7 separate regions of the Homo sapiens genome follow, and all the other regions are linked to region 3. Evidence: promoter capture Hi-C in 16 types of primary human blood cells and fetal thymus (Javierre and others, 2016). All regions are on one chromosome and are shown on one strand. Each heading gives the region's core, a stretch centred on a gene start or on the middle of the fragment in contact. The rest is flanking DNA. Distances are from core to core; before and after follow the strand shown.

The links. The method cuts DNA at HindIII sites, captures the fragments that hold promoters and counts their contacts. A CHiCAGO score of 5 or more calls a contact.
Region 1: a fragment that was not itself captured here is called in contact with the fragment with the promoter of KLF8 in region 3 in 2 of 17 cell types (M1 macrophages and M0 macrophages); the score reaches 5.2 in M1 macrophages.
Region 2: a contact is called between a fragment that was not itself captured here and the fragment with the promoter of KLF8 in region 3, in 1 of 17 cell types (erythroblasts). The highest score is 5.2, in erythroblasts.
Region 4: a fragment that was not itself captured here is called in contact with the fragment with the promoter of KLF8 in region 3 in 1 of 17 cell types (erythroblasts); the score reaches 5.7 in erythroblasts.
Region 5: a fragment that was not itself captured here is called in contact with the fragment with the promoter of KLF8 in region 3 in 2 of 17 cell types (M1 macrophages and M2 macrophages); the score reaches 6.6 in M1 macrophages.
Region 6: the fragment with the promoter of MAGEH1 here is called in contact with the fragment with the promoter of KLF8 in region 3 in 15 of 17 cell types (total B cells, M0 macrophages, megakaryocytes and 12 more); the score reaches 22.5 in total B cells.
Region 7: a contact is called between a fragment that was not itself captured here and the fragment with the promoter of KLF8 in region 3, in 5 of 17 cell types (erythroblasts, total CD4 T cells, endothelial precursors and 2 more). The highest score is 7.7, in erythroblasts.

Annotation. Positions count from the first base shown.
Region 1 is chrX:57,121,433-57,124,547 of GRCh38, reverse strand. It overlaps SPIN2B (spindlin family member 2B), which reads left to right and starts at 3,000. Exons shown (of 2, transcript NM_001006681.2): 1 at 3,000-3,115. It also overlaps a transcript of FAAH2 not described here. RefSeq lists a silencer at 2,713-2,832. The HindIII fragment of the contact is 426 bases long and covers 1,653-2,078 here.
Region 2 is chrX:55,655,948-55,659,233 of GRCh38, reverse strand. It overlaps the pseudogene XAGE-4. Among named protein-coding and RNA genes, the nearest start is that of FOXR2, 34 kb to the right of the region's middle. The HindIII fragment of the contact is 7,881 bases long and covers 1-3,286 here.
Region 3 is chrX:56,230,589-56,233,873 of GRCh38, reverse strand. KLF8 (KLF transcription factor 8) reads right to left here and starts at 1,518. Exons shown (of 6, transcript NM_007250.5): 1 at 533-1,518. The coding sequence starts at 539. The HindIII fragment of the contact is 3,283 bases long and covers 108-3,285 here.
Region 4 is chrX:55,532,754-55,536,005 of GRCh38, reverse strand. No RefSeq gene overlaps it. Among named protein-coding and RNA genes, the nearest start is that of USP51, 45 kb to the right of the region's middle. The HindIII fragment of the contact is 240 bases long and covers 1,381-1,620 here.
Region 5 is chrX:56,991,696-56,994,682 of GRCh38, reverse strand. It overlaps SPIN3 (spindlin family member 3), which reads left to right. Exons shown (of 2, transcript NM_001010862.3): 2 at 1-2,987. The coding sequence ends at 512. Among named protein-coding and RNA genes, the nearest start is that of SPIN3, 2.4 kb to the left of the region's middle. The HindIII fragment of the contact is 1,095 bases long and covers 869-1,963 here.
Region 6 is chrX:55,450,141-55,453,416 of GRCh38, reverse strand. MAGEH1 (MAGE family member H1) reads right to left here and starts at 1,290. Exons shown (of 1, transcript NM_014061.5): 1 at 1-1,290. The coding sequence starts at 1,042. The coding sequence ends at 383. It overlaps MIR4536-2 (microRNA 4536-2), which reads right to left and starts at 1,922; the gene lies at 1,835-1,922. It overlaps MIR4536-1 (microRNA 4536-1), which reads left to right and starts at 1,835; the gene lies at 1,835-1,922. RefSeq lists enhancers at 828-877, 1,028-1,077. The HindIII fragment of the contact is 1,343 bases long and covers 1,067-2,409 here.
Region 7 is chrX:55,413,021-55,416,245 of GRCh38, reverse strand. No RefSeq gene overlaps it. Among named protein-coding and RNA genes, the nearest start is that of MIR4536-2, 37 kb to the left of the region's middle. The HindIII fragment of the contact is 1,230 bases long and covers 760-1,989 here.

The DNA.
Region 1 (3,115 bases), core at 616-3,115, 890 kb before region 3:
TGACATTCTTCACAGAATTGGAAAAAACTGCTTTAAAGTTCATATGAAACAAAAAAAGAGCCTGCATTGCCAAGTCAAACCTAAGCCAAAAGAACAAAGCTGGAGGCATCACGCTACCTGACTTCAAACTATACTACAAGGCTACACTAACCAAAACAGCATGGTACTGGTACCAAAACAGAGATATAGACCAATGGAACAGAACAGAGCCCTCAGAAATAACACCACACATCTACAACTATCTGATCTTTGACAAACCTGACAAAAACAAGAAATGGGGAAAGGATTCCCTATTTAATAAACGGTGCTGGGAAAACTGGCTAGCCATATGTAGAAAGCTGAAACTGGATCCCTTCCTTACACCTTATACAAAAATTAATTCAAGATGGATTAAAGACTTAAACGTTAGACCTAAAACCATAAAAACCCTAGAAGAAAACCTAGGCAATATCATTCAGGACATAGGCATGGGAAAGGACTTCATGTCTAAAACACCAAAAGCAATGGCAACAAAAGCCAAAATTGACAAATGGGATCTAATTAAACTAAAGAGCTTCTGCACAGCAAAAGAAACTACCATCAGAGTGAACAGGCAACCTACAGAATGGGAGAAAGTTTTTGCAATCTACTCACCTGACAAAGGGCTAATATCCAGAATCTACAATGAACTCAAACAAATTTACAAGAAAAAAACAAACAACCCCATCAAAAAGTGGGCAAAGGATATGAACAGACACTTCTCAAAAGAAGACATTTATGCAGCCAACAGACACATGAATAAATGCTCTTCATCACTGGCCATCAGAGAAATGCAAATCAAAACCACAATGAGATACCATCTCACACCTGTTAGAATGGCGATCATTAAAAAGTAAGGAAACAACAGGTGCTGGAGAGGATGTAGAGAAATAGGAACACTTTTACACTGTTGGTGGGACTGTAAACTAGTTGAACCATTGTGGAAGTCAGCGTGGCGATTCCTCAGGGTTCTAGAATTAGAAATACCATTTGACCGAGCCATCCCATTACTGGGTATATACCCAAAGGATTATAAGTCATGCTGCTATAAAGACACATGCACACATACGTTTATTGCGGCACTATTCAAAATAGCAAAGACTTGGAACCAACCCAAATGTCCAACAATGATAGACTGGATTAAGAAAATGTGGCACATATACACCATGGAATACTATGCAGCCATAAAAAATGATGAGTCCGTGTCCTTTGTAGGGACATGGATGAAGCTGGAAACCATCATTCTCAGCAAACTATCGCAAGGACAAAAAACCAAACACCGCATGTTCTCACTCATAGGTGGGAATTGAACAATGAGAACACATGGACACAGGAAGGGGAACATCACACAATGGGGCCTCTTGTGAGGTGGGGGTAGGGGAGAGGGATAGCATTAGGAGATATACCTAATGTAAATGAGGAGTTAATGGGTGCAGCACACCAACATGGCACACGTATACACATGTAACTAACCTGCACATTGTGCACATGTACCCTAGAACTTAAAATATAATTTAAAAAAATAAAAATGAAAATAAAATAAAAAGCCCTCACTGAAACTATGACATATCTGCAAATTGCTTTCCATAAAAATTGTATAAACTTTCACTTGCATCAGCACTAGATATGAAGCTTTTTCATGATCAATGACATTAAGTAATATTTTAATGTTCTTTCATACTTTGACTGTTGAATCGAGATTATTATTACTTCTATTTTTCCTTGTAGATGTTATTTTATTAAGTGTAGTTGTTCTGTTAACATCCGACTCATCCCCTCATTCAAATACCATAAGTATCTGAATAAGAAAGATACCATTAAGCATTGTTTTGTTTACAGAGTTTTTGGTTGGTTCATTTGCTTTCTGTTCAATTTTATTTTGCTGCTTTTTACCTTTTAATAAATCAAATATTGATACTGGTACAACATTAGTATACAACCTTTCTCAAAATATTTAAATAATTATTTCAACATTCCTTAAAGAATACCCAACGTTTCTCCACTGATTTATAAAACTATAACTTTAATTATTTCTTATAAAGTTATTTTTTTGCAAAGCTTTCTATTCCGATACATAGATCTGATTACTGGTTATTGTGGAAATATTATGTCAAATGCCCAGTACTGGGAGAAAAGCCAAATTATAAATCACTTTAAAATTGAGTTTTACGGACCAAGTGCAAGATATGTAACAGGTGCTCAATAAATATTTGTTGAATGAAAAAATCGATTAGAAAACATCTAATTTCCTGGAAAAATTAATAGACATGAATTGCAGATAAAAAACAAATCCCAGTTTTGCAAAAGTTTAGGAAAAAGGAAAAAAAACTATGAGCATTAATATTTTGCTGTGAGGCCCTCAAAAATGGGAGATGGGACTGCAGTTGATGATTTTCCTCTTAATATTAATTTCCTAAAATGTAGATAGTGTTCACGTTGTACATGCAATTATCTTGCAATAAAGAAAAGGAAAAAAAAATCCCTCGAAAACAAAAACAAAAATGCCAGGAAATATCAGTCAGCAAAAATTAGGTAGAGACTGGGTCAAAATGGCAGACTTACCATAGTGAATTTCTCTGTTCCAACTCCAAATCCTTTCAAAAAGAGGAAAGACATATTTACGTGTAAAGAATAAATCCATAAGGGCATGGGACGGTGCAGGGGCAGGGGTGGGCGCGGGGGTGGGCGCGGGGCGGCAGCAAGGCGAATTCCAAGAAGATGGAAAGCAGGGCAGGCAGACTAAGAAGGTGGAGGTGGGAACCAAGTGGCCCTGAAACGGGTGAGGAAGGGGCCACAGGGTTCCGAGGACGACTGTGGCACGAACTACTCCGGATTTGGAAAGAGGCGGAGTCAGAGCCCATAGCTCCGCCGGGGCTACAGGCTGTGTGGTGGGCGTGGGAGCCTGGTGGAGAGGAGAGCCGGGTGTTTGACAGGAAGAGGAGGCCTCTCTCTGGGCAGGAAGCTGCGCTACGGAAAGAGGGAGGAGACTGCCGCGGCGACAGCAGGGACTGGTGGAATCCCGATGTGGCTGAGGGGCCGCCACCGCCAGCAGGGAGGCGGAGGGCTAGCGAGCCAAGCGGTGGGGACGCCGCTGCCT
Region 2 (3,286 bases), core at 491-2,990, 570 kb after region 3:
GAACCAGAACAGCCAAAACGATTCTGAACTATAACTTTGGGGAACTCACACTACCTAATATCAAGAGTCATGCTAATTCTATAGTAATCCAGAGAATGTGGTACTGGGGAAAAATCAACAGATCAGAATGGAGTCCAGCAATAGGTTCACAGACATGATAAACTCATTTTCAAAAAAGGTGCAAAGGCAATGGAGAAATATTATCTTCTTGAGAAATTGTGTTGTTTCGCCCTGCTTCTTGGCCACTACATTCATTGTTCTTTACTCCCCTGGGTCTGTTCCCCATGTTTCTCCTTTGCAGTTCAACTGCTCTTCAGTTTAACTGTCTGTCTTCCCCACCACAGTGTGGTAGCCTCCATGGAACATACCACGTGTGGTTCCTTGGTCTTCACATTTCCAGCATCCCAGATATTTCCTGCAACATGGCAGGCACCCATGCATATATAAATGAGAAAAAAGAATGTATAAATAGAGATATTAAAGTAATTTATTTCTGTCACAAAAGGTCTTTCTGAGCCACATCCTCCACTAATGGTGACATGGGACTGTCTGTTCCCAGTGTTTCTGGATGCATGAGAATGGTAGGGCAAGAGAGAGAACAAAGCCTCTTAGTCCCTTTCCTTCTACTACAAACACCTTAGGGATGCGAGCCTGGGGAGAGAGGGAAAACCCCGGGTGGCCTTGCATGTGCCTGACTCAGTGTGCACATCCCTTGCTGCCCAAGTCCCTTGTCCATGTGCCTTGCTGTCTGCCTTCTGTCCCTGCAGAGCTGTGCAAGGAGACATCATGACTTCCTTCTGTGCTGCTGACTAGGAGTCAGCCAGTAAGTCCGAAGATCAGTCTTCCCAGAGTTGAAGTGGGAGAGACTGTGAGGAGGAGCCCGCGGCGCGGTCTATGGCCTCCGACGGGGAGGTCCTTGAGGTTCCTGTCCTTCTCCTAACAGGTGGTGACACAGCCTTGGCCTTGCTGTCGTGGGGGTCCCAGACAGGGGAGGAAGGAGGGCCATAGAGGGGAGGAGGACCTAGTGAACATGGAGTGAGTTTTGAAGGGGGAAACTATTTGTGGTATTTGAGTCCCGGAGGCATATGAAACCGCCCACAGAAGACACATTCCATACTCTTCAGCGGAAACCTGGGAGAAGGCAGAGGACTGCGCGGTGCGGGATGGGGTGGGGCGAGGAGGGGTGCCACAGCCCACCAGGCAGGCACCGACCTCACTGCGCATGTCCACTGGGCGTCTTCCCCTCGGCCCCTTTGCCCATGTGGTGAACGCCAGGGAGCTGTGAAGGCTTGAGGATCGCGTTCCTGCTGTCGGGACTTTTTCTGTCCTGCTGAGACGCAGCCGGTAGGTCCACAGGCCAGTCCTCCCAGGGCTTGAAGTGTGAGTGAGTGTGAGGAGGAGCCAGCGGCCGTCCTGAGTGTGGGGCAGGGTGGTACGTGGCCTCAGAGGCCGAAGGGTCTCAAAGTGCTCGTCCTTCTTCTCGTGAGGTGGCACCGCTGTGGGCCTTGTTGTGGTAGGGTCAGAACGAGGGAAGAAGGTGGACCGAGTAGTTGAGAGGGGTCAGATGAAGATGGGGTGAGTGCTGGGGGTGCTGGGGCAGGTATCTGAGTCCCTGAAACCCTCGACAGAGGACAGATTCCAGACTCCTCCGTGGCGACCCAGGAAGGAGCGGGGTGGGCATTAAGGAAGGGAACTGGGAACACTGCGGGTTGGTGACCATGGCCCTGAGGTCTGTAGAACGCCTGGCAGAGGTGTACAGTGAGGAGGGCCCAGTGCTGTGTGGCAACTTCTCAACTCCACTGTGGAGATTTGAATGGGTGGGGCTCTGCGTTCCAACAAAACTTGATTTTAGGGGGGAAACGGGCCTAGCAAATGGGTGGGTGACAAAAGTCGTGGTCACTGCAGTTTTAATTCTCTGGCTGTATTTTCCTAAATGCCTCCACGGAGGAGAGTTCAGTTGTGAAACCAAACCTCATCGGAAATATCCTATGTCTTTTGCCAGGAGCTATGAGACATTGCTCAGCTAGCTTGACCAACTTAAGTGACTTTGCGAGCATTTGGAAGGCACACATACTTACACTTACCCTGAGACTTAGTTCGAAAGTATTTACAAACTTTTAAAAAATGACAAGTTAACATTTGGTCATGGAAGTGGTCAAATACAGCTGTCCTTTCAAGTGCATTTACCAATTCACAGTATTCTGTTTGCAGTGTGAAATATGATTTGGAGAGTAAGATCAACATATAGGCCTAGACCAAGGAGAAGCGTACCACCTCCTGAGCTGATTGGGCCTATGCTGGTGAGTGTCTTAACCTTTGATGTTTTCTATTAGCAGAAAGTTATTTTTGTAACTTGTTGTTACAAAACTATGTTTTGTAATTGTTGTTGAACCAGTATGGATTCACCAATAAAGGTCTTCCATGCTGATAAAAATGATCATGGCATCTCATGAAGGAAAGACTAATCCAAGAGGATTAAGTTCTTCTGTTGTCTGGATGGATGATCTTGTGTTCCCCAGATTTTGCCCACGATTTCCTTCTCATGCTTATTTGCAAAAGATTACACACATTCATCCCAACATAGATTAAAACAGCTTCCAGAGCCCTTGAGGGCAACTGTCTTAGAGTAACCTCTCTGTGGGAAGAGTAACTTTATGAAGTATAAGTATGTGGAAGAGTGCTGGAGAAATGTCTTTAGACTTATGATCAGAAATATCTATGTATTCTGTATATTTATATTATTGAAATGTATTGATAACAAATTATCTGCACACACACACCCCTGGTTCCAGGAGCCCAGTGATGAGGAACCTCAGCAAGAGGAACCACCAACTGAAAGTCGGGATCCTACACCTGGTGAGGAGAGAGAAGATCAGGGGTGCAGCTGAGATTCAAGGTGCTGGGAAGAGAAAGAAAGAATATCTATGGTTGGGGGGTGGGCAGGAGAGGCCTATATGTGCATCATGCATTATGCCATAAACAGTAACAGGAGGAAAGAAAACATTAGGAAAGGATCTCAAACACTTGCTCAAAGTTGGCTGGAAAAGTGAAGAGTATAGTTTGCAGCTTCATGCCGTCCCTGGATACGATGAATCTTCTCTTTTTCTTCGACGTTTATTTTGCATGCTTGAAAATACAGTCCTTGCTAAATCAGATGAAACTCTTTAATGTGGTGTACAAAATTTCACTAGTTTTATCTTCTTAGAATGTTGTCTGATCTTCTCAGCTGTGGTGTCCACAGTATTGTATGCACCCTTTAATAGCATGTAGAAAGCCAAGTCACCCT
Region 3 (3,285 bases), core at 269-2,768:
CCAAAGCAGCTCCTCCCCCGCAGCTGCTTCCAGGCCTCACTCTGTGCCTCCAATAGCCTAACTTTGCACCTTAAACCACTGTCCCCTCCTCCTTCTTTTCAGAAGCTTCTCTAGGTACCCGCTATGGCTTCAGGGGGTTACCTGGGAGCTTTGGCCTTGTGAATCCTGTTCTCTCTGGTTGTGACTTTGGCTGTGTGGGGTTAAGTCAAAGACAATCCTTACCGCTTAAGGAGTATTGGGAGTGCCGAGCCAGGGGAGACTAGACTAGACAAATCCATCCATTCTTGCCCCCTTTCACTTCTTCCACCAAGCTCTCTCCTCTCCTTCTTGGCCTTTCTTTGCCCAGCCCTTTAGCAAAGTCATTTTCCCTTGAGTTTCATTTGATTCCACATAGTGTTCTTAACCTTCCGCTCCCGCCCCCACTGCTGAAACCCCAAGTGGGGTGTGTGGGGGGAGCAGGGGGACTGGGAGGGGGATAGAATCTAGACGAAAGAGGTGGGAGTGGGTGGGTATTAGTCCCAGAGTCACTTACCGACCATGTCACTAGCTGAGGACTCCTGAAGTGTCCAGAACTCATGCCGTCCTCCGGGAGGCTCATACTCCTGAGCTGATCGCAAGAGAGCTGTTCCCCTCACACCCGCCCCATTCTGACATAGCGCAGGGCGACGCGTTCTCGTCTTCTCGTTCTTGGGCCCCCACTCCCCTATTTCTCCGGGCTGGAAAATGAGGAGGGGGTCGAAAGGGGAGGGAGTCGATTCAGACCCAGCTGGGCCACTCTCGGAACAAGGGAAACAAAGCTCTCAAGCATCCAACCCAAAAATCAGGGGCCGGCAGAGTAGACTTCCTAAAAAGAATCCTCCCCCCTGCAGCTTTTCCTTGGACAAAAATAAAGTGGGTTCGCTGGGCCGAAGTGGCCAGAGCTTAAGGTCCTCCGTTCCCCTTTTACCTCTACCAATTCAGTTCCGGCCAAGCCCGCTCTCCACCCATCCTCTGAACTCCACACACCCTTTAAAAGGAGAGGGCCGGGGGTGGGGGCTATGAAAACCAACCCAACCCCCAAAGCGCTACTTGAACATAAAGTTGAGGCGGAGAAGAAATCCTTCAAGACAGGAACCCACGAGGAGATACCACAAGAGGATCCCTTCACCGCCGCCGTTGCCGCCGCACACCCCAGCGCCTTCCTAAAAAGAAAGAAGGGAGGAAAAAAATGCCGACGATTGGTAGAATCATAGAGAAGAACACCAGCCCCAGGGCAGGGGCTTCAGCGAAAAATGGCAGCAACTCGTGCGGGTCCTCTGGGGCGGGGTTTCTTGGAGGCACCTAGCTGCCCCACGGGGTACCTCGCGCCCCACGCGAGTCAGAACCTAAAGTGCTCTCTGGGCAACCTGAGTGGGTAGAGTGATTCCGTCTTTCTCTGGCCCTGCTAGGCCCAAAGGAGAGGTGTGACTATCGTGAGGACTCCACCTAGGGTGGAGTTCCTTAAAAAGGACAGGCGGCCGCTAGAGGAGAGTGCAAAGTGGGAGGAGGTGGAGAAGGGTGGGGCTGAGAAGGAGGAGGGAGGAAGGAGGGGGTGGGGCGGGGCCCTGGGCCGACAGAGCTGGCCTCGCCTCCGGCGGCCGCCTCCCTCAGCCTCCAGCAGCGGCAGGTATAATTCCAATCAATTTCACTTCCTTATCTGTCCCAAAATTAAGGCTTGCAAGCACACTGCTTGATTACCTATTTACTCCGGTTATGCTAATTCTCCAGGGGAGGGTGGTGAAACGGGTACTGGGATTGGGGCTGGGGGCTGTCTAAGAGGGAAAGGAGAAAACAAAAAAGCTGACAACTGGAAGCGATATTTATCCTCCTACCTCTCCATGGTAACACGAACAAGGACAGCGAGGTCACAGTGTCTTCTCAGGGAGGAAGCTAAAAGGAACGGAGATTGGAGCTTGGTGCATTTTCTAGCAAGAGATAAGCCAAGGAGGTGAGGGCGAAGGAGTAGGTGGGGAAGAAGAAGGAGTTGAAGATGATCTGTGAATACAGCGTGGCCCAGCAGGGAGACTTAAGAAAGGCTTTCTCAGTCTCCCAGATACCAGACCTCTAAGAATAGAGTTCTCAACCCCCTGAGACCGCCTCTCAGCCAGGCATTGGCGAAGATCCCCGTAAAGCTGAATCCACAGGATAGGAGCCATGTTTCCAGGATTTCTTTACGCTTGCCTGAAAGTCTCTCTCTAGCTCATTTTAATGGGAGGCCAGGAAGTCACAAGCAACCACAGCCCATTTTCAGTGCCTCTTCCCTACCACAATTCTTTTAAAGAGGAGGAAAAAGAAGAGAGACAAGAAACAAAGCAGAGGGAGGAAGAGCAAAGAGACAGGAGAAATAATAATATCTGCCATGTATTCAGCACCTAATATGGGCAAGTCCCTGAGCCAGGTGCTTTTACATTCAACATTTCCCCATTTAGTCCCAATAACAACCCTGGGAACTAGGTACTGTTATATTCTCTGTGCCCTTTATTTAAAAAAATAAGGAAACGGAAGGCCTCAGCCCAGTACTTTCGAACACATAGGTCTACTTACTTAGTTGATATTTCTGCCTGAATGTCTTCTGTGCATCTCATCTACCTTCCTTTCCCCAAAACACTCTGTTCTTCCTCCTGTAGTTCACCAACTACCTGAATGGCACCACCATACATCCAAGGCAGCACCCTGGAACTCATCCTTTAACCTGCTGTGATCTGGCCTTTGTCTGCCTCTCAAGCAGCAGAGATTTTGCTGTTCTCCTGGGCTTTACCTGGATTACAAATCCCTGGGAATTCCAAGCTGTTTCCAATCTCTATGCCTTGGGTTGCTTTACTTTCTCTGACTGAAATAGACTAAGCTCTCTGTCCACCTTTTTTTTTCTTGCATGTCCTTCCAATGAATCTGTCCACTTTCTTGAAAGGACTAACTCAAGGTCATCTCCCCTCCTTACTTAATTTCTTCAGGCAAAACTGACCATTGCTTCCTCTGTGCCCTTCTCTACCTCGGGGCACATATTTGTTGGTATAATTGCCTCCCCCTACTAAACTATAAAGTCCTTGAGCTGAAGCACCAGGCGATCTCATTTCTGTAACTTGGATGCCAAGTTATATTATTATTAACAATAATAATAGTTATTGAGCATTAACTATGTACTAAACTCTGTTGTAAGCCTCTTATGTATATTAACTCATTGAATCCTTCTGACAATCCTATGGGTAGACATTGCTATCCCCATTTTACAGATGTGGAAACTTAGTGACAGGTTAAATAAATACACAT
Region 4 (3,252 bases), core at 251-2,750, 700 kb after region 3:
TCCCTCACTGATGCACACCTGCCCACAGCCTTCCCCCAGTAGCATGAACCCACCCACCCTCAGCATTTACCCACCAGTGCACACTTGCCCATAGCCTCCCTCCGCTGCCTTCCCAGCACACACACATGCAGGGACCCACTGCCACCACCCACCACCAGCACGCAAGAGCATGGAGACCCCTACAGACTCACCAGTGCATGTGTGGGCACAGACCTGCCGTTACCTTGCTGGAGCGCTTTTGCCAGAGGCCTCCATTGGAGTGTTATTGCTAGTAGACTGGGAACATCTTGGCTCCTTCAGTCCAGCAGATGCTTACTTCCAAATGACTGCATGAGTTCCACAGTACTTGTTCTTAACTTGACTGAAATGGCTGAAATGACAGACATAAAATTAAGAATCTGGATGGCAAGGAAGCTCATTGAGATAAAGGAGAAGGTTGAAATACAATCCAAGAAACACAAGAAAATGGTCCAAGAGTTGAAAGACAACACAGCCAGATTAAGAAAGAAAAAAAAAACCAACTCAAGATGGATTAAACACTTAAATGTAAAACCTAAAACTATAAAACCCTGGAAGATAAATGGTGGGGAGGTGGTATGACCATGCAATGATAGCATAAGAAAATATTTGGTAGTGATACATCTGTCCCATACTCTAATTGTGGTAGTAGTAACATAAATCTATATACGCATTAAAATTTATAGAATTTTACTGTAAAATAAATCAGTTTTACTCTATGAAAATTTAAAAAGGAAAAAGTCTGTGCAATGCCACTAAAACAATACTTAGGGGAAATTTTATAGCATTACATATACATCAATATCAGAAGTAAAGAGTGGTCTCAACATTATGATTTCAGCATCCACCTTAAGAAAATGGAAAAAGAAGAGCAAATTAAACCTAAAGTAGGTAGAAAAAAAAATCACAACAAAAATCAGTGAAATAGAAAGCAGAAAATAGAGAAAAATCAATGAATCGAAAAGTTGGTTTCTTTGAGAAGTCAACAAAATTGATGAATCTCTACGCAGGTGATCAGGAAAGTAAGACAGAAGACAAATTATCAATGTTAAGAAAGAGAGAGATGGCATTATTATAGACTCTAGAGATTTTAATAAGAGAAGGGAATGTTATGAAGACCTTCATGCCAATAAATTACACAACTTACATTAAATGGAAAAAATCCTTGATAGGTACAAACTAACAAAGCTAACTCAAGATGAAATAGATAGCTTAAATAATTCCACATCTAATGAAGAAATTAAATTTATAGTTTAAAACTGTCTCACAAAGGAAACTACAGGCCCAGATGGCTTCACTGTTGAATTCTACCAAATATTTAAGCAAGAAATAATGTCATTCCTAAAAATTCTCCCAAAAGCTTGAAGGAAAATAACTGCTTCCCAACTCATGCTAATCCTAGGTTCAAAAATATTCTAGAACAGGACGAGGATGCCCACTTTCACCACTCTTATTCAATAGCAATCAGGCAAGAGAGAGAAAAAAAGGGCAACCAAATTGAAAAAGAAAAAGCCAGTTATCCCTGTTTGCTGATTATATCTAGAAAACCCTAAAGTCTCCACCAAAACACTCTTAGACTTGATAAATGAATTCAGTAAAGCTTCAGGATATAAAATCCACATACAAAAATCAGTAGCATTTCTATACACAAATAACAGTCAAGCCAAGAACCAAATCAAGAAGACAATTCCATTTACAATAGCCACAAAAAAATACCTAGTGATATATTTAACCATGGAGATGAAAGATCTCTACAAGGAAAACTACAAAACACTAATGAAAGAAATTGTAGATGACACAAACAAAAGGCAAAACATCCTATCCTCATGAATCTGAAGAATTAATATCATTAAAATGGCAAAACTGCCTCAAGCAATTGCTTTAGATTGCTACAGATTAAATGCAATCCCTTTCAAAATATCAATGTCATTTTTCGTAGAACTAAAAAAAAATCCTAAAATTTGCACGGAACCAAAAAAGAGCCCCAATAGCCAGAGTGAGCTTAAGAAAAAAGAACAAAGCTGGAGGCATCACATTACCTGACTCCAAATTATACTACAAGGCTACAGTAAATGAAAAAGCATGATAGTGGTATAAAAATAAACATGTAAATCAATGGAACAGAATAAAGAACCCAGAAATAAAGGCACATATTTAAAGCTAACAGATTTTTTACAAAGCCACAAGAACATATACTGGAGAAAGCACACTGGGTTCAATAAATGGTGCCGGGATAACTGGATTGCCATATGCAGAAGAATGAAACTGGACCCCTATCTGTCACCATATTAAAAAAAATCAACTCAATAATGATTAAAGACTTAAATGTAAAACCCAAAACTATAAAAATACTAGAAGAAGGCCTAGGGAAAACTCTCCTGGACTTTGATATAGGCAAAGAATTTATGCCTAATATCTCAAAAGCATAGGCAACAAAACCAAAAACAGACAAATGGGATTTAGTTACACTGAAAAGCTTCTGCACAGTAAAAGAAGTAATCAACAGGGTGAACAGAGACAACCTGTAGAATGAGAGAAAATATTAGCAAACTATGCATCTGACAGGAGTCTAATATTCAGAATTTACAAGGAACTACAATAACTAAAAATAAATAAATAAATAAATAATAATTCTATTAAAAAAGTGGGCTGGCCGGGCACATACGCCAGTAATCCCAGCACTTTGGGAGGCCGAGGCAGGAGGATTCCCTGAGGTCAGGAGTTCAAGACCAGCCTGGCTAACATGGCAAAACTCCATCTCTACTAAAAGTACAAAAATTAGCCAGGCGCGGTGGCAGGTGCCTGTAATTTCAGCTACTCAGGAGGCTGAGGCAGGAGAATCACTTGAACTCGGGAGGCAGAGGTTGTAGTGAGCGGAGATCATACCACTGCACTCCAGCCTGGGTGACAAGAGCAAGACTCTGTCAAAAAATAAAAAATAAAAAAAAAGGCTAAGGACATGATGAATAGTTATTTTTTAGTAGAAGACAGAAATGGCCAACAAGCATAGGAAAAATGGTCAACATCACTAATAATCAGAGAAATTAGAATTAAAACTGCTGTGAGATATCATCTTACACCAATCAGAATCGCTATTGTTAGAAAGACAAAAAATAACAGATGTTGGAGAGGATGTGGAGAAAAGGAAATGCTTATACGTTGTTGGTGAGAATGTAGAACCTCTATGGAAAACAATATGGATATTTCTCAAAGAAGCAAAAGTAAAACAACCAA
Region 5 (2,987 bases), core at 167-2,666, 760 kb before region 3:
GATTTGACTGTGTTTATGGATTGGAACTTCACAGAGATGAAAGAGTGTCATCACTTGAAGTCCTTCCTAATAGAGTTGCATCATCTAGAATCAGTGATACACACTTGGCAGAAATAATGGTTGGCAAAGCAGTGGAACATATTTTTGAGACAGAGGAAGGTTCCAAAAATGAATGGAGGGGGATGGTCTTAGCTCAGGCACCTGTCATGAACACATGGTTTTACATTACCTATGAGAAAGATCCTGTATTATATATGTACCAGCTCTTAGATGATTATAAAGATGGTGACCTCCGCATCCTTCAAGATTCCAATGATTCTCCTCTGGCAGAGAGGGAGCCAGGAGAAGTCATAGACAGCCTGGTAGGCAAACAGGTGGAATACGCCAAAGACGATGGCTCCAAGAGAACTGGCATGGTCATTCATCAGGTAGAAGCAAAACCCTCTGTGTACTTCATCAAATTTGATGATGATTTCCATATCTATGTCTACGATTTGGTAAAAACATCTTAGAGGTCATCTTGAAATTTGCCAAATATATGAGACTCTAAATCTGTAGACACAGAAAGTCTTGATTGCTTTCCAGTTTGTAAGAACCATCTTCTCCCTTTTTGCACGTTTTGCTTGGCAAAAAAATTGGAACTTCTGCCCTCTCATACGTTTTTGGAAGAAACCTTTTGCCCATCTGTCCAACCTTTTCACTGGTTCCTCTCCGCAATTTAACTGATTAGTGAGAAGGGTAAAGTCTGACATCCATTGGCTCATACTTTTTTTTATCTTGGGTGGTGTTAATAGATTAAAGGTAGCTGAACACCTCTCACCTCACTCTTTTTGGCACTTGGACTCTACACTCATTGAGGTGTGAAGCTTGCTGAGATATCCCATGTGACTGGCTGGGTAAGTGTCTTTGCAATCTCAAATCTCCCCCAAGTGGCTTCAAAAATCTAACTTGGGAAAGAGTGGGAAGCCCATTTTGGTCTCTTGTTCAAGTTGCATTCTCAGTTCTAACTGTACTAAAAGTAAGGCTAATAATTTTGCTCTCTTTCCGGTTCTTTCACCTATTGCTCAACTGTTTTAGAATTAAGAAGGTAATTACTTTGCATTTTAGTACCTAACCATAGGCTGAGAAACCTTGCAAAACTGATAAGAAGACAAGCATTTGGGGACCAAACTCCAAGTGGAGAGATCAAGATTTCTGGTGGAGCTTAAGTGAAAGGTTTTAGTCATCAGTGGCATTAGGGTCTCTCTTGTCTCCAATAGCTCTGGCTGGTATCTGCAGACATGGAGTAGGTTTTAACTGATAGAAGCTGTGCAGGCAGACTTTAGCACAAATGGTCTTTGCCAGCCCAGAGGAGCATTAAGCCAGGCTCTAGCTAGAGCCCTCAGTCACAGGCAAAGGCTGGGTTTGGCTGGGTTTGGACAGATCTGTCCAGAACCTCAAAATGAAAGAGGAGAAACCTAGAATCAAACTGAGATACAGATTTCTTTGCTGTGCTAAGAGAGACTCAAGTTTTAGATTTGATTCTTAGGAGACTGAATTCAGAGTCCCAGCATGTGAGGTGGGCAAGGCACTTGTGAGAACCAAGAATGGCTGAAAGCAGGCTATACTTCCTTGCAGGGACTGGTGGGCTCATCTATTATGGTATCCCAGCAGGACTTGGAACACAGTCAGTGGTAGGTAATCTGTAGGCTTAATGATGTTTTAAGTGCTGGCATTGGTAGATAGAAATCTAATAGATTTTTGTTAGTGTTTGGATTTTTAACTATCCTGTTTCTTGGCTGGCCCTAAGAAACTTATATGCAGATAAGGGTGAGTTCTACTGTGGCAGAAAAGTAAACAATGGAAGGGCCTTTGAGCTTTCCATTATTAAAGAGCCATTGGCGGAGGTTAACCAAAGCCTAGGAAAGAAAAGTTGAAGTACAAGCATGGTTTTTGAGAGAAGCACCTGGCCAAAACCAAAGCTTTCTCATTGAGGTTCTCACAGAAGCTCCATTAGCAGTAACAGCCTAATAAGGCCATGGAGTTCTGCACATTTGGGGCTGGGACTCAAGGCAGTACAATCATATTGGGACTGTACTGCAAGATATCTTCCAAATTAGTTTAAGTTCACAGGTCATGGAGTCCAGACTACCGGCACAGATTGGCATCCTGCTGAGGATGAAACAAAGAAGATGTTCTCTTTTCTCCTATGTTTTATCTGTCTACTTTTGCTTTTTGATGCCACTAAGTCTCTACTATGATGTTTGACTGACAACAGCAATGTGGGTCTGTATTGCCCTATGTTCTAAGTCCTGGGGTCATATATTTGCTTAAAAAAACTGTTCTAGTGGCTGGGGACTAGTGTGCTTTCTAATTTTTTTGATGTGAGGTTGATATTGTGATAATCTTATGTCTTCTTGACCCTTTGGACTCTTTAATATGTATGACATGCAATTGTGGGGTTAGATTAATTCAACTCCTGAGGTCCTGAAGGAACTTCACCCAGTCAAGAGGAAGACAGCCAAGGCTGCAGCTGCTGAAGGAACCCCATATCTGGGCAGACATCTTTGTGAGATCTATATGGCTGAAATGAGAAAAACGAGAAATTGGGAAAGGCAGAATTTTGGACTTTAATTATTTTGGACTTTGAATTAGAAATTTAATTTTGGGCAGTCCTTTTTCCCTTGGAGTTTAATAGTTGATGGGGTGGGGGTGAGGTCATATAGTTCAAACTAAGGCATTTTTATTATGTTGTTGATATTGTATTATTTGGAGTATTTTAATGCTATCTTTGGGAGTCATTGTATAATTGTTGTCAGCTATGTCAGGAAATATGGCTGGACATAATTGTAAATTAGGGCTGCAATTGTGATCAAATTTTCAGTCTAGGGTGTAATGTAGCCTTAGAGTTAATTTAATTACTGTTCTATTTTGACTTATTTCAGAGCCTCTTGGGGGCAAAAACAACTGCTCACCAATCTTACATTGATGGGAGCAGAACTTTTCTA
Region 6 (3,276 bases), core at 41-2,540, 780 kb after region 3:
GGTATTTCAACTTCAAAAGAACAGCTTATTTCTATAAGTGCTGTACAAGATCATAGATTATGATGGAACGACTTCATTTTAGAACGTTAGCAAAACTGTTATACTAAATGTCAATGACAGGAAACAAAGAAAAAAATTTGTTCAATTATATTTTTAAACATATTGTTATTCTCAACAAACGGAATTTTAAAACGAATACAATTTTCCATTATCAAAAGCAAACACTCTATTTCGCAGTTGAACAATGATCACTGATCACAAATATCAAATACAGTGTCCCCCGCCCCCAATCGACATCATTTTCAACTTAGGACCCTGGCATCTACTCCTTGGGGTACCTGTGACTCTCTTTTACACCCCCAAGGGTCTGCCTCAGATCTACTTAAGGGGCGGAATAACCCCTAGCACCTGAATTGAGGATAGCCTCAACCTCTGCATCATCGTCCGAATCCCAGTCATAATTACAAGGCCAGTCTTTAGAGCATCGGTTACGAACCCTTGCCACAAAATGCATGACTTTCAGTTTGCTCGATTCCACGTGTGCTCGGGGCCCCCAGAAGAACTCATACTCCACCGGACTGCTACGGGGCACCGGTTTATAAATCAGGTACCCTCTGCGCACAAACTCTTCTGTGACGATCTTCTTCGGATCTCCAAAGATGCTGTGCTGACGTCCAGGCTGCATTCCTAACTTCCCCAGCACTTTCCAGACCAGAGCTTCCTTGGCGCTGTTGCCCATGATGAAGATGAGCGCTAATATAGACATCAGGAGACTTTTCTTGGTGCCCTGAAAATTGCTCCGGGGCACTGAAGGCTTTTGTGCTTGGGCAGTGCTCGAGGCTTCTTCAGGGGTGGTAGAGGCCTCCTCTGGAGTGCTCGGGTCTTCCTCGGGGCCGCTCAGGTCGTCTTCGGGGGTGCTCGCTACCACAGAGGCGGCCATAGGGGTCTCGGAGGCCTCTGAGGCCTGGATTTTGCGATTGTTGCGGTTCTCTTCTGCGGCTCTCGCATTACGGCGGCGCCGACTCTTTCGTCCCCGAGGCATGTCTCCTGCTAGAGGCTCAAAGCTTACAGCAGTCCTAGGGAAGGATGCTTGTAGCCTCTTCAGGAAGCAACAGCTTTATACCGTAAGAAGCTGCTGCCGCTGAAGCTACCAATGTCAATAGAGTCTTTGTAGCAATAAACAAGCCGTTCTCAGCTACAAAGGGTAGTTCCCACGCCAGCTGACTTGCGCGAGCAGCCGCCGCCAGCACTTGCCGCAGCTGCAAGCCCGCGAGAAAGCTCAGCAAAATTGGCCCCGCCTCTCCTGCCACGCACACTCCTAGCACCAAAGAGGAAGTAGGCTGGTCCTCCACAGGGACTTCCGCTAGCAGATAGGAAAAGGGGCAGGCAGCGACAGGGGTGGGACAAGGGCAGAAATGACAGCTAGAGATTGGAGGGGCCTGGAGTTTGCAGAAGAGAAAAAAATAGCTTAAAGTTTCTGTATTTTCAGCCTACTACAAACATTCCAAGATTGGCTCGACGGTCTAGGGAAGGAGTGCGTCGGCTCCATTCCCACTGACGACGGGCTGTGTGTGTGTTGGGGGTTGGGAGGCCAGGGGTGGCGGGAGGGTGTATTCTTGGAAGGAGTCAGCTGTCTCCAGCCTTCCTTTCCTGTCTTGGCTTACACAGCGCGTTCATTCACTCGCCCTGTTTTCAGAAGGCATTTGTGTGTATACTAATCAATTTGTGGTCCCATGTAGGACCCGGATAATATTGTTATGGCAGATGTGCTGGATGATGTGAGGAGATGGGACTGCAGAAACAAGCAGGGTGAAAGAGGTGCAGAGCCTTTAAAATGTGGTAGATATATGCACGATATATATACTGCCCTGCTTTTATACATACATACATACATACCTATATCGTGCATATATCTACCACATTATGTTTATATACAGTGCATATATCTACCACACATATATGTATGTATGTATGTATGAAAGCAGGGCAGTGACAGGATCAGAGGAATTGCATTTGTGCAGCCTCTCAGAAAAGCAAACTGTTTCCTGGCAGACCACATAGGAAGCAATTGGAATAAGAAGCACTGGGAACTAAAGTATGCCTTAAGGCTGTTGCCATGGGGATGGAGAGGCAGAAAGACATTTTAAAGGTGACCGTTGAAGGGCTTTGCAGACAGAATGGATGAAGTGGGGAATGTGGAGGGGATGATGGAGTTCAGATTGGCTCCAAGGTTTCTAGGCTCCAGTCTTCCTGGACTCCTGATTTATTTTGCTTCTTTCAGAGCATACTCTGAACTTTATCCACTGCTTGCTTTTGCTCACTGTTTGCTCTGCCTGACCTGTCTTCTCAGCCTTCTCCAACTATCTAAATTCCATTTGACTGCTCACAGACCTGTTTCTCCCTGAAGCTTGTCTTGATCTGCCCAAAAGGGTAATGAGTCCATTTTTACTCCATTGAGGAAAGCCCTATAACTAGCACTCTATATCTTTCTTATGTCATTCAAGGTATTAGTTTAAGCAAGTCACTTCTCTCTAAGCCTGTTTTCCCATCTATAAAGTGGGGCTAAAGTACAGCCCTCATAGGGTTGTGAGAATTAAATGAGATAAAAAATGAAAAGCATTTATTACATGGTAAGCACAGATTTTGCCTCTCAAGGTTTTCCAAGCGGTGTGTGAGTGTGGCATTTAATAAATGCGTGCTGAAGGAATTCATGATGGAAAAGATTTTATAGGTGTTCTTAACTGAACTCTTAAGAAACAAATGAATACTTTATGCCTGTCTTGCTGAAATTTTCTTTATAATTAGAGCCCACCGAGACCTCCTGTTGGGTAAGTTAGCAATAAATCAATTTGGTCAAGCAAAGAAAGCACCTCTCCAGGACACAGAGCACTCTTGAGCCAGCCCTCCGTTTGGGATAACCTTTGCACGCGTTCTGGGACATGACCTACTCAAAACAGTAGTCTGGCTCCATCTGCTGTCCCACATTCTGAGAATTCTCGCAGTTTCTGGTCCATTGATAATTGCTCTGAATTGTTTTTCAGTACAGGTATGAACTTATTTTACTGTTTCCAGGAATTTGGGTCTTGCATGGAAGTCTATAGCATGTACAATCCTACCCTCATGAAACAAAAATGGGAGGATTACTTTTGCAGTTTATTTGCTTGTTTTTAGCATGAATTTTTTTTTACTGCGACTTAATCTCAAACGTAGGGCAAAGAAGAGAGATTAATATTATAAACACCAATAGCTAGCTGTATAAAATTTAAATATTAGGCC
Region 7 (3,225 bases), core at 125-2,624, 820 kb after region 3:
TGTTTCCTTGATTAGTCCCAATGTGAGTACCTGGTTTTTTCAGTTGAAGGTGCTATATTTACTTGCCCCTTTTGTTTCTCTCCGTGAGAGGCATGCACCTTAGCTGCTTCTAGTCAGCCATCTTGTCCCAAATCCTTATTTTTTTAAATCACTTTGTAGATGTTATAGTGTCTTCTAGATTTTACTCTTCCTATTGAGATGTCATCTAAGAGGTTAAATGTAATTCTTTTGTAGATAATTACATATTCTTTGCTGCTTAGAACATATCTTTGTTTTTGGGTTTCTGTAGTTTTATTATAATAAGTCTAGGTGTGAATTTAGTTTTATATATTCTATGTGGGGTTTACTAGACTTCCTGAATCTGAGGATTTATTTCTTTCATAATTTCTGAAATATTCTCAGCCTTTATATTTTTAATATCACCTATTTCTTATTCTTTCTGTTATCTATTTCTGACATTACAATTTGATGAGTGTACAACCTGCATACCATATTCTCCATATCCTTTAATTTCTCTTTCATATTTTTAATTTCTTTATTTCTCTGAATTTCATTCTTGTTAACTTATTCAAACACATATTCCTGTTTACTTCATCTCATTGTAGACATGATCACAATTATATCACAGGCTAAATGTGTTAGGTAGTAGAGAGTGGTAAGTAGAACCCACTCAATCATTATATTCATCATCTTAATCCTTCACAAGTCATCAACCCAAATTGACAGAGATAAACAACTATTTTATAGTATAAATAAGCTTCTTGTGATAATCAGGATATAATTATGCTAAAATATTCACCATATAGCTAAAATTCAATTTAACAAGGTATCCTGTATTTTATCAGGCAAGTTTAATGAGAAGTCAATTTCTACCAAAGAAGCTGAGACAGATATCAAAGATATCTTTGTGATGATGTAAATTAACTTGTTCTTCAGTGCTAACTCTAGTAAACATATAATGTAAATCTAAAGTTAGGACATATGAACTGCCAAAGATTTTTATGCTATCTCTGAATGTGAGAGACATACTAATAAAATTTCCAGGTAATTTTCTACCTTGTGTATGGACAGGAGGAAGAATATTGGATATCAGAATTTTTCTAAATATTCAGGTCATAATTTATATATCACTGGGTATAGGACAATTCCAGTTAGTAAGAAGTTACATAAAGCATTTTTCTCTCTAAACAAAGGATGATTCTCTTTTGGAGACTCATTCTTGGTGTTACAGATGCTTTTTCCCCCCTCTCGTGTGTGTGTGTGTGTGTGTGTGTGTGTGTGTGTGTGTGTGTCCGTGTGTGTGCCTGTGTGTCTGTGTGTGTGTTAAGAACACTAAACATGAGATTATCCCCTTGACACATTTTAAGTGCACAATAGAGTATTGTTAACTATAGGCACAATGTCGTACAGCAGATGTTAAGAATGTATTCATCTTGCGTAACTGATACTATATAACTGGTGGACAGCAACTCCCCATTTTAAGGATACTCACTCTGTTGTCTATTTTTTAAATTTTAGATGTTTTAAGATTACACAATTGTGGCAAATCAGATGCAATTATTATAACCCAAGTGACCCAATGGAGACCCCAAATTACAGTTAGTGGAAAATAAAAATGCTGTTCACATTCATTAGTCTTAATCTCAGAAAGTTAGAATAGTGTTTAGAAATTATAATTTCTTATCTGAAATTATCATATATACAAGTGAGATGGTATTGAAATGGTGCTCATCAGCCAGAGTCATAATCAATTTGAATTATATGTAAAGTGAAACATAATCTTTTTTGGTTTGACTAGCTAAGCACAATTCCAGACAGAGAGGATTCAAAATTATTCAGTTGGCGTTTAACTCTCATTGGGGAAGCCTAAACTGACATCTTTAACTTGATGTAAATATTACCATTTAGGCAATTAATCTCTTGAGAAAATGCTAAATCTCAGCAAAATTTTGAGATATAACAGTTGTCAGATACTTCTGTAACTAAGCTTATTTTAATATTATTGCCAATACTTTGAATTGATTTAAATCATTAATTTGAATTAGTTTGTATCACTCTTCACTGTCTTAGGCTGGATATCTACTAAAGCCATAATTGAAGATTCTTTAAAAACACATGTTGCAAATTAGGACTACATATTGCATAGAAACAAGTAGATTAAATTTATTTGTCAATTTTATGTGCAAAATAAACATACCAAAGTACTTTGGGAATGTACAACTTGACTGTGCTTTTATAGCACTGACTCTAACTCCCTGCCCCAAGTAATTCTTTTATTTGCATGGTTGATAATTTGATCTGATCTTACTATTTCTAGATCTAGTTCTCAACTTTCTTTTCTGTTCCACTGTTCTATATGTCTTTCTTTATATCAGTATCACACTGTCTTGATTGTAGCTTTATAATAAGTCTTGAAATCTGGTAGTTTAAGGCTTTCAAGTTTGTTCTTTTTTTCAAAATTATTTTGTCAGTTAGAGATCCATATAATTTACAAACAAATTTTAGCAGTCTTGTAAACTTCAACAAAATAACCTGCTAATATTTTCACCTGGGTTGTGTTGACAGTGTAGATAAATTTGGGAATAAATGATCTTAACAACATTGAGCCTTCCAGTGAATGTAGTATATTTCTCTACCTACTTAGTTTTTCTTTTATATATCTCACTAATGTTTTATAATTTCTGTGCATAAAATTTAGAATCATCTTGTCAATAGCTACAAAAAAAGCTTCCTAGCAAGAAAACCATATGACTCTCAAATCAATTTAGGTCTTCTTTAATTAGGTCTCTAAACAATGTTGTTTTGTTCTCAGAGTACATATTTTATCAAACTTACCCCAAAGTATTTCTGGTTTTGTGATGCTGTTGTAAATGGTATTTTTATATTATTAACTTTCAGATAGTTGCTGGTATATAGAAATACAATTGAGTTATGCATATTGACCTTGTATTCTGCAACCCTGCTAAACTAATTTTTAGTTCTAGTATCTTTTTTAAATACATACACAATCATGTTGTCTAAAATATGTTAAAAGTAGAAAAATAGTTTTTCTATTTAAAAGAAATCTGTATTCCCTTTTTTACTTGACTTATTACATTAGTTAGCATCTATGGTAAAAATTCAAATGGGAGTTTTGAGAAAAGATTTCCTTGGCTTACTCTCAATCTTGAGGGGAAGCACTGTCTGATGGTACTTATAGGTATTTTGTAGTTGCCCTTTACCAGG